Regions from separate parts of the Homo sapiens genome. Here region 1 is linked to region 2. Evidence: promoter capture Hi-C in 16 types of primary human blood cells and fetal thymus (Javierre and others, 2016). All regions are on one chromosome and are shown on one strand. Each heading gives the region's core, a stretch centred on a gene start or on the middle of the fragment in contact. The rest is flanking DNA. Distances are from core to core; before and after follow the strand shown.

What was found. Contacts are between HindIII fragments. The CHiCAGO score rates a contact against its expected background, and 5 or more counts as called.
Region 1: a contact is called between the fragment with the promoter of NME9 here and the fragment with the promoter of COPB2 in region 2, in 3 of 17 cell types (total CD4 T cells, non-activated CD4 T cells and total CD8 T cells). The highest score is 6.7, in total CD4 T cells.

What each region holds. Positions count from the first base shown.
Region 1 is chr3:138,325,639-138,331,256 of GRCh38, forward strand. It overlaps NME9 (NME/NM23 family member 9), which reads right to left and starts at 4,213. Exons shown (of 11, transcript NM_001349018.2): 1 at 3,665-4,213. The coding sequence starts at 3,697. LOC124909438 (a long non-coding RNA gene) reads left to right here and starts at 4,295. Exons shown (of 2, transcript XR_007096113.1): 1 at 4,295-4,532. The HindIII fragment of the contact is 16,828 bases long and covers 1-5,618 here.
Region 2 is chr3:139,385,776-139,391,298 of GRCh38, forward strand. It overlaps COPB2 (coat protein complex I subunit beta 2), which reads right to left and starts at 3,872. Exons shown (of 22, transcript NM_004766.3): 1 at 3,773-3,872. The coding sequence starts at 3,775. COPB2-DT (COPB2 divergent transcript) reads left to right here and starts at 4,028. Exons shown (of 5, transcript NR_121609.1): 1 at 4,028-4,158. It also overlaps the pseudogene LOC124906339. RefSeq lists enhancers at 3,550-3,799, 3,596-4,157, 4,090-4,389, 4,158-4,720, 4,600-4,709. The HindIII fragment of the contact is 7,530 bases long and covers 1-5,523 here.

The DNA of each region.
Region 1 (5,618 bases), core at 2,963-5,462, 1.1 Mb before region 2:
CTCAAGTGATCTGCCCACCTCGGCCTCCCAAAGTGCTGGGATTACAGGCATGAGCCACCACATCTGGCCAATAGTAAACATTTCTGTATAATGTTTTTTACTTTGAAATAATTTCAAACTTAGAGAAAGTGTGCAAGTACAGTATAAAGATTTAGGGATTTTTTTTTTTTTTTTTTTAGGTATTTGGAAGCAAATTACAGCTTGTTATCTTATTACTCCTGAATATATTATTCCTATATAACACATTACGATAATCAAAATCAGGGGAAAAAAACACTGACATATTGTGAACATTTAATCCTTAGATAGAGTGCAAGTTTTCCTATTTATCCCATAATGTCCTGAGTATCAAAGGAGCTAATCAGAAATGTGTGCTAGATTTATTTGTCAAGTCTTTTTAGTCTGGAATAGTTCTTTAGTCTTTCTCTTCTTTTCACAATGTTGACACTTTGGAAAACTACATGCCAGGTATTTTGTAGAATGTCCCTCAGTTGGGGCATATCTGATGTTTCCTCCTGATTGGATTCAGACTGTGCATGTTTGGACTGGTTGAAATTGGCTGGACTGGTTGGAGTGTTGGAGAAGCTGAAGATCATTCCTCTCACTACTCCCTAGCAGATGAGACACAATTTCCATCTGCCTGTTACTGATGTTCACTTTGATCACTGGATTAACATGGTCTGTCAGGTCTGTTGTCTGTAAAATTATTCTCTTTTCCTTTGTAATTAACATATTTTTGTGGTGAGCTACTTTGAAACTATATACATTAAAAGACCACAAAAATTACTACTGGGTTTTTTGTTTGTCTTTTTTGAGACACAGTCTCACTCTGTCACCCAGTCTGGAGTGCAGTGGCATGATCATGGCTCACTGCAACCTCTGCCTCCTGGGTTCAAGAGATTCTCCTGCCTCAGCCTCCCAAGTAGCTGGGATTACAAGTGCCCGCTACCACACCCGGGTAATTTTTTGTATTTTTAGTAGAGACAGGGTTTCACCATGTTGGCCAGGCTGGTCGTGAACTCCTGACCTCAAGTAATCTGCCTGCCTCGGCCTTCCAAAGTGCTGGGATTACAGGCATGAGCCAGCACGCCTGGCCTACTATTGTTCTTAATACAGGTATGCTAAGGTCTGTGTCCCTCTAAAAAAGATAGGATGCATTATTGGCAATAAGGGCAAGAAACATGTAACAACTGCTAATCCTCTATTAAAAGTTCCTTTTTTGGCCGAACGTGGTTGCTCATGCCTGTAATCCCAACACTTTTGGAGGCCAGGGCGGGCAGATCACTTGAGGCCAGAAGTTTCAGACCTGCCTGGCCAACATGGTGAAACCCTGCCTCTACTAAAAAAAAAAAAAAAAAAAAAAAAAAGTTAGCCGGGCGTGGTGGCGCATACCTGTTTTACCAGCTACTCGGGAGGCTGAGACATGAGAACTGCTTGAACGTGAGAGGTGGAGGTTGCACTGAGATGAGATCATGCCGCTGCATTCCAGCCTGGGCGACAGGACAGAATGAAACTGTCTCAAAAAAAAAAAAAAAAAAGTCTCTCTTTTAAGGAAGCATAGTCCTTACTTTTTTTGTTTCAATGAAAAGTAGAAGAAAAAGAAACCCAGAAAAGTCTTCTTGATGTCTTAAATGAAATAAGAGAGTTGGACTGACATAACCCTGGGCCCACAACTACAGTCCTGAGGAAGGTGATAGAAGCGTTCGGAAGGGCCCCACACCCCTACCCAGAGGCTCAGACTTAAGTCACCAGCAGCTCTCTGTGGCCCACCCCTGTCATGGAGTGAGTCCCACCAGCTCTGGGGCCAGGACTCTGGGCAGTTGAAGAATCTCAGCCCTGGGAGCCAGGCAAGAGTGGAACAGTGTGGGAACTATCCGGACTTCACTAAGCCTGCATTTGGTAGGGAATGAATAGGGAATGTGTGGCACCTTTTACCCAGACTGTCCCTTGATGTCCTGTGATTTCTGCCTGTCTCAGTTATAAAGGGAACCCTGAATAACCTTGCTGAGAGAGAGGACAAGGTTCCTGGGTTGGCCAACTTTAGGCATTGCTTTCAAGGGGTTTACCTTATAGAGAGGTGACCTTTACACAGATGCCTCAGTAGAAGACGGGAGGGGAGGCTGCTCGCTCTCCTCCTTTCAGCAGGAGGGAGCACTTAGTTTGAGTACTGCATTGTACTCAGAGCTCTGAGTAATACACATGAAAAAATAACAACATTGCTAACAAAAGTTATTACCCCCATAGGAGCTCTAGGGCATCAACACATGAAATGACCATAATATGGGGCAATAACATTAGAGACACCACAGACAACATCAGACCAGCCAGGAAGTGTCTAAAGGAGTCTCATCACAGCTCTGCAGGCGTTACAGGACAGGTATCATCCCTCCTGTCTACGTAAAGGATACGGAGGCCAGAGAGTTGAGGAAATGAGTCACACAGCAATGAATGGTAGGACCAGTTGATCAGAATTTACTTCAACCAGAACATTCACGTATGAAGTGGCTTCTGACTCTAGAATCCTAGAATATCAAGGCTGGAAGAAGGCCCTTAGGGATAATTCACACAACATCCTCATTCCATAGATGGGCAAGCTATAGCCTGGAGAGGTTATGTGATGTAGTCAAAGACACAGTTGGCTATAGAGGACACAAGAACTACATCAGGTCTTCTGACTTCCAGTCTAAAAATCCCACCCCACCCCACCCCACACCCCTCCCACCCCCAGCATGGGGTACCCTTAGAATGATGCTGCTTTCCCCTTTCCTCTTTTTTAAACCACTAGGCTTTTGAAATCCACATGCAAACTGCTGGTCCTGCTGAGGACAATAAGAGAGAAACCAGATGTCTCAAAACCACTAATGCTCTATTATCTAGGAGGCGCTGTAGCCTTGGTATGCATCTTACTGGGGCCAGCTGATGATGAGGCATTTTAAGTTCGTTTTAAAATGTTCCCATGTTGCAGATCATCCAGCTGATCTCCTTATGACCAAGCACTCTCTCCTAATTCCAGGGTCTATGCCTGCATGTTTTTACCATCACTTCAGAATCAACCACTATCTATTGTCCAGGACCAAGAAGAAGAGCAGCTGCTGGCTTCTGAATTCACTTGTCCCACATGCAAATGAAGTAAGACACTCTATATAACATATGTCCAGCACATAATATATCTCAAAACATATTTGTTAATAAGTGAAATTTGATGAGAACAGTGGTGGGAAAACTGGGTCTCCACAGAGCACACAGTTACAGACTCATGCCCAAAGTCAAAAGAACCTATACTGTATTCTCTGTGCAAGCTGCAGTTGTATTTCAACAAGAACAAAATAACGGTCACATCGAGTTATGTTGATTCGTATTTTCTTAGTTTATAGTTTTATTTAATGCATGTTTAGGTTTTATGGTTGTATAAGCACTATAAATGTAAACAGCTTCTACTCAGTTTTGTTTGCATTAATTTTGTTTGCGTAAAATTTGTCATCACTGGGGTTCCAAGATAAGTTTTGTCCCTTTAAGACGGAAGGGTACATCACTCAAGTTTGAGAACACTGTCACGTACTGCTGGCAAACAGAATGTCACTTTTATACTGCAACCCCGCTCTAATCACCCTCCTCTTCCCCGAGCCCAACCCAGAGCTGGAAGCTAGCGCCCCTTGAGGCTTACCTGCAGGGCAATTTCCTTCTTCCTGCTGCCCATGGCTCTGCAAAGAAGACGAAGCCCTGTTACCGCGGCCGTGGGCCGTTCCCCCGCAGCCTCGCGACAAACCGCTGCGTGGATCAGCAAGCCCAGAGCCTCCTTCAGACAAGCCCCCCTCCTACGGCCCCCGGCCCCTTTTTAAGGTGCTTCTAACTGGCGGCAAATCAGCACACTGATACAAAGTGAACACCCCGCGAGGAAGCGGAGCCTGCAGTCCACGGGCTCGTGGCTCGCCGGGCGGTTTTCTGGGGATCTGCGAAGCCCCCTCCCCACCCCGGAGCCGGCCAGGGGGCGCGCGCAGAGGCCGGAGTCAGTGCGCCGGGCGCGGTGCAGCCTGTCGGGCACAGGGTCGCCAGTCGAGGAATTCTGACAAAAAAACGACATGGGACCCTGTTATCCCTGCTGTTCTTATGGATTACTGGGAAAGTGAGCCACTGCGAACGACAGGTACAAGATCTTCGACGCGCCCGGAGTCACCAACCGAGTCTGCCGCGACCTAGCCGCGGTCGTCATGGCAACCTGGCCCCCCCGCCAGGCCTGCCAGGAAAGCCGGCGGACACGTAAGCCACGCCCACTCTGGGCCCAACGCAGTCTCTCCGCGGAGGCTCTGAACCCAGCCAGGGAGAGGCAGGAGGGAGTCCCGCCCCTTGCCCTCCATATCGGACCATAGGAACCCACTCATTGGCTGCAGTGTTTGTCAGCGTCTGGAGGCTTCGAACCCACCAAGCAAAGACCCAGTGCATCTGTGCGTTGCACAGTCGCATCTGTGAATCCCTGCATCCCTCCTGCCCTGCCTGCCAAGACTGATGTGCAGCTTTTCTACCATCACATACCGGTATAATGTGTGCAAGGTGGGGGGTGTCTCCAGGTTTTGAGGGATCTGCAAGCGTTCTCTTTAAGGCAAAGAATATGAAATTACAAATTCAAAATTAGATATGAAAGTCAAGTGAGACACATACAAAACAGTTACAGACATTGTAGATATTAATCCAACTGTATCAATAACCACTTTAAATGTGAATAATCTGATTACACCAATTAAAAAAGAGATTGTCAGAATGGATTTCAAAAACAAACAAAGCCCAATCGTGTGTTATCCACAAGAAAATACATTAAAAGCAAAAGGATAGAGAAAGCTATACCAGGCTGACACTAATTAAAAAAATAGCTGAAGTAGGTATGTTAATTTCAAGAAAAGCAGACTTCAGAACAAGGAAATTTATCAGGTATAAACAGGGACATTACATAAAGTTAAAGGGATCAGTTATTTGGGAAGACATAACAATACTTAATATGTATGTACTTAAAAACAGAGCACCGAAATATGTGAGGCAAAAGAAGATAAAACTGCAAGGAAAAATAGGTAAACTCAGTATTATAATAGAATGCTTTCATACCATTTTTAAAAAGTAATTAATACATCCAGCAGAAGCAAATGAGCAAGGATATAGTTGAACTGAAAAATATCAAATTGATCTAATTGACATTTATGCAATATTTAGTTCAACAACAGCGGAATATAGATTCTTTCTCAAGCTCACATGGGACATTCACTGAGATAGACCACAATCTAGGCCATAAAACATAGCTTAACAAATTTAAAAGGATAGAACAAAGTATGTTCTCTGACTGCAATAGAATTAAACTAGGAATCAATCACAGCTGATGAAAGAGATCTCACAGATTTAAATAAATGAAGAAATATTCCGTGTTCATGGATAGGAAGAATTAATATTGTTAAGATATCAATTCTTCCTAAGTGAAGCATACACCAAATGATTTCCATCCAGGGAGTGCTGATACCCTGTTTGGCCATGAGGTACCCAGCAACCCTCTGTGAAGTACAGGGCGATGGGTATACTGGAGACCGAACATCTTCCTACCTGTCATCCTGCCTTCTCCCACTTCAGCTCCGAATCCA
Region 2 (5,523 bases), core at 2,622-5,121:
ATAGGAGAAAAGTTAATTCAATATATACAATGATCCTTAGGGCAGTGGGCTTAATTCTCTCTAGGAGGCATGCTGAGAAAAGACTGATTTAAAATATATTTCCCCTTCAACAGGTCTTAAACACAACCTAAAAGCTCATTTGGCAAGTTGAGTTACTGTCAAATCTTTATTGCTGTGATCTTCTATGATGATCATGAATGGGACAGAAATTTAAGGTTACTTTTGAATATAAAAAGAAGATCTAGCAGAGACAACTTCCTGAGACAAAACACCTCACAATGCTTTTACTCATCTTTTTTGGGGATTTTTATCAAATTTGGGTCATTGACTACTTCAAGTCTTGTTCTACCCACGCCTCCTTCATTTTCAGCAACAACCTTTACCTCTTACTTTAAAAGATCAGAGTTCTCTGGCTCTTCTCTTCAATCTCCTCAAAAATGTTTTCACTGTCATCAGTCCCTTCCTCTCTCCAATTTTCTACTTTCTTGTTTTTTTTTTTGAGACAGAGTCTTGCTCTGTCGCCCAGACTGGAGGGCAGTGGCGTGATCTCGGCTCACTGCAACCTCCACCTCCCAGGTTCAAGGGATTCTGCCTCAGCCTCCCGAGTAGCTGGGGACTACAGGTGCCTGCCACCATGTCCAGCTAATTTTTGTATTTTTAGAGACAGGGTTTCACCATATTGGCCAGGCTGGTCTCGAACTCCTCTCCTGACCTTGTGATCCACCCACCTCGGTCTCCCAGCTCCAATTTTCCACTTTCAAATCATCATCTTAACATTCCTTGCTAGTTCCCAAAATCAAGGCTTTTTACTTCATTTCTGAATTCTGCCCCATAAATTACTATTACAAATTTTAACTTCTTTTTAAATCTCTATGGAGTCAACAGGTATGAAGAGTCTATTATGTACCAGGCAGGAACCATGGTGAGGGTTTTCATATAAGCCAGCATGTCTCACAATTTTCCTCCAGTAATGAGGAAATTGGACACTTACAAATTGTGAACATTTTACTTTAAAATATTTTAAATTATTGATTATTGAGTAAAAGTGATGCTCCATAAGTTGGGCCAATGAACTCTGAGCAACCCCAGTAAACCTCTACATACTCCCAAAGCACAAATCTCAGTTTAAAAAAGAACAGGCAGCCAGGCGTGGTGACTCATGCCTGTAATCTCAGTACTTTGGGAAGCTGAGGCGGGAGGATCACCTGAAGTCAGGAGTTTGAGACCAGCCTGGCCAACATGGTGAAACCCCGTCTCTACTAAAAATACAAAAAAAAAAAAAAAAATTAGTTGGACGTGGTGGCACGCGCCTGCAGTCCCAGCTACTCGGCAGGCTGAGGCTGCAGAATCACTTGAATCTGGGAGGTGGAGGTTGCAGTGAGCCACGATTGCACCACTGCACTCCAGCCTGGGCGACAGAGTGAGATTCTGTCAAGAAAGAAAGAAAGAAAGAAAGAAGGAAAGAAGGAAGTAAGGAAGGAAAGAAAAGAAAAAGAAAAGAAAGAAAAGAAAGAAAGAACGAACAGGCAAGGGTTCTTGTGATAATATTTCTCCCAACAGTTAAGTGACTATTTTGAATAAGACAATGTACTAGGTACTTTGGGACAAAGATGATTAGGATGCTCACACTGTATCCTCAACTTTAAATATATCCCTCCACCTTCCAAAAGCTGGATGCATTTAGGACTCAGCTTAAATGCCACTGCCACCAGTAAGACCTTTCTAGTTACCCTAGCCTGAAGCATTCTTTCCTAGGGAATCCTATAGGATTTCATTTTAACTGTTCATGGTACACTTGTGTACACATCTTTTCTTGCTTTCTAGAGTAGATCCTCCTTAAAGCCAGGGTCATTGCTTATACATGTCTTTATCTCCAGATCACCTTATATATTTGAGTATGGGGGTTTAAGAACAGATACCATAACACAAGACTAGAAAGCCATGATGGATTTAAATTTCAGTTCCACCACTCATTTCAGATGTGCAATAGTGGGCAAATTTACTTAACCTCTTTCAAGTTTGACTTATGTAAAACAGGAATATTATTATTATCTACCTCTTAGTGCTGTAAGAATTAAATTCAGAGTTAGCCAGTTAGAGCAGTGCCTGACCTACAGTAACCACTTCACAAACATATAACTCTATCTCCCAGCTGCTGTGAGAATTAGGCAGCCATGTTTAGCAAAGTGCATGGCAGACACTAAATATTCTATGGTAAATGTACAAATGAATGAATTCACGTTTTGTATTTTCCACAAAGGATTTAAAATATATAAAGAATGAAGGCAATATTTCATTATAGAAATACACTGGTAAATGTAAAGACGGCAAAAGAAAATGAAATTAGGCAGATCCAAGAGCCTTTTCCAAAAACGTCCATTACTGCAACCACAGCAGACCCAAACTACATCAGGTAGTTAGTAATACGAAGTGCTCTAATTAAGAGGCTTGAGGTCTTGTTCAGGGACTGTAACCTGGGTGCCCAAGAAAGTCCACGGATAGTGCTAGCTTCGGCAGCACATAGAGAGGAGATTAGCGTGGCCCCTGCGCAAGTATGACACGCAAATCCGTGAAGCGTTCCATATTTTTTATAAAACAAATTAAAAAAAAAAAGAAGGTCCATGGATTGTGGGGGGGGGTGTCTGTGAATGAATGCACTGAATTTTATGCAAAAATGTTTGTTTCTCTGTGCATTTTCCCTGGGAGTATTCCTAACTTTTTCCTAGTTCCAACTTTGCCACAATTAACCTTGTAGAAACATAATTTAAAAAAATTTTTTAACTTAAGATGAGGGACTTAATCCCTAGCGTCTTCAAGCTCCAAAATGTTTGATTCTGTGCTTCATAACAAGTTTTTTTTTTTTTTTTTTTGAGACGGAGTCTTGCTCTGTCCCAGGCTGGAGTGCAGTGGTGCGACCTCGGCTCACTGCAGCCTCTGCCTCCCGGGTTCAAGCGATTCTCCTGCCTCAGCCTCCTGAGTAGCTGGGACTACAGGGGCCCGCCACCACGCCCGGCTAATTTCTTTTTTTTTTTTTTGCATTTTCAATAGAGACGGAAGATATTCTTATACTATCGTTTTCTTTCCTTATTATTATAACACTCTTGTGCAAACTAGTCTAGGGCGTTTTTTAGGGTTACGGTGATAATAACAAAGTGCTCTAACAATTACTATTCTTACCAGCCACTGGATTTGCAAATGCATAAAAGCACACCAGCCAGTGTTATAAACAGCACCCCCTTCCTCCCAACCCTTCTTCTCCCCTTAGAAACCTAACAGCTGAGATATCAAAGCATTTGAAATTCCATTTTTGACTCCATATACATTTGTTTTTGGCTTCTTTGCTTGTTTATAGTTTGTAGCCAGCACACACTATCCCCAGAATAAGCCCAACAGGAGTGTAGATTAACTACCACCGTTTTAAAGGCAAACTTTAGTTTTACCAAAGCCTCCTACGGAGTTCAACACATTCGGCTTCTGTGTTTCCCTACACCACCGATCCCGCTGCAGACTGCAGGAGCTCTGGCAAGCGCCACAAGCGCCAGGGGAGACAAAACCCCTCACTAGCAGGCTTTGCCTCCCCAAATCACCCCGGTCCCCTAGGCCCCACCGCCTTCTCCCTTCCTGGAATCAAACGACCAAGACCCCGCAAGGCCTGAGGCGGCGGCCGCAGCGGGAGCCCAGACCACTGCTTACCGCGGCCCTCAGTCCAGAAGCTCCAGGAATCGGCCGTAACCTATGGGACCCCGCTCCCTTCTACGGGATCTGGACCTACCATGGCTGCGTCGGTCCAATCCCGGGAACCCTCGTTTGTTACCGGCTACTCAGGCCTTGAGATAAACCCACCGATCCACTGACCGTCAGACTGACTGACGTGGAACTTCCGGGAGCCGATTCTCGCGATAGTCAGAGGCCAGGGCCGGAGCGCCTGCGCAAACTGCGCGCAGGGCCGTCGTTTCCCAAGCCCCGCCCCAGTTTCCTAGGCAACGTGGCCTTCCAGACCGCTGGTAGTGGACTTGAGGCTGTCGGGAAGGAGGGGTGTGGCCTAGACCACTAAGGGCCGTGACGTGGTGCCGCTGAGCTTGGACCCCGACCAGAAGATAGAGATTGAAACGATGAGGAAAACGAAGTGCCTAATCCCCGCTGGACGCTAACTGCAGGGCAAGCTCCCCAGTGTTGTAGTTGTGTTTCGGAGGCCGAGAACCGCTATCGGGCTTCCTCGGACTCTGGCCCTGGAGGGGGGAAACGGCGAGGGAGAAGGCGAAACGAGTCTCCAGTGTGTTCTTGGGGCCTGGTGCGAGGCCCAGAGAATTCTCTGCAGGCCTTTGCCCGGGCACTGATTAAGGCTGCGAAGAGACGCACCGGGCTGCGGGCTTAGTAGCTTCAGGCTTCTGAAGTCAGAGGGAGGGCTGAGAGCTTACACTTCTGGAGCTCCCCGGGAGACGGCAACTACCCAACCGTGTGGGTGTGTTTGTGTATGTGTCTTTTGTTGAGCTTCGGCTGGCTGTGTTATTCATTCAACAAATATTTATCGATCTTCGGCAGTGTGTCAGACATACCTTCTTCTCAAATCTTCACATCAAACCTGAATTATCTCCATTTAATGATGAGGAAACTCGGGCTCAAAGAAGTTAAGTGTTCTAGCCAAGACTGCATAGTAAGTGGCAGATAAAACCTCAAAGTTGGGCCGGGCGCGGTGGCTCACGCCTGTAATCCCAGCACTTTGGGAGGCCGAAACGGGTGGATCACCTGAGGTCAGGAGTTCGAGACCAGCCTGGCCAACATGGTGAAACCCCGTCTCTATTAAAAATACAAAATTAGCCTGGCGTGGTGGCGGGCGCCTGTAATCCAAGCTGTTCCAGAGGCTGACAGGAGAATCGCTTAGAACCCAGGAGGTGGAGGTTGCAGTGAGCTGAGATCGCGCCACTGCACTCCAGCCTGGGCAACAGAGCAAGACTCTGTCTCAAAACAAAACACCTCAAAGTTTGTGCTCTTTCTACTACATAAAAATATCTCTTCATTAATGTGGCTGAATTCTAAGGGCCTGTGCCATAGGGGTTACACTACACAATAAAGTTCGAGAACATTTGCCTGTCACACGCACTGCACATCTCCTGTATTTCCTTTTTTTTTTTTTTTTTAAGAAAACATGTGGACCATAGAAAACTTGCCCTCTGGTTACACGTACAAACGTGTATTTTTAACTTGAGAGAAATCTTAAAGTCTTTTCAGACCTCCAGATTTTCAGAAAGGCAAAAAGAAAAATTATGTATTTGTGTGTGTAGATAATGATAATCAGAGGGAGATGATTTTGCACGAAATTATTTGGCTTTAGTAGGAGCCTTGAGCTAATGTGACTCTCTTCATGGGCCTCAGTTTTCATCATCTTAAAAAAAATCCAGCTACATGGTTTCTAAAGATCCTTCCATTTTTTTTTTTTTTATGTTTCTGTGGCATTCAATAGTGGAAAAAAGAGTCTGGAACTGGAGTTTAGTGCCAGCAGTGTGATCTTATGTAAATTGAGAC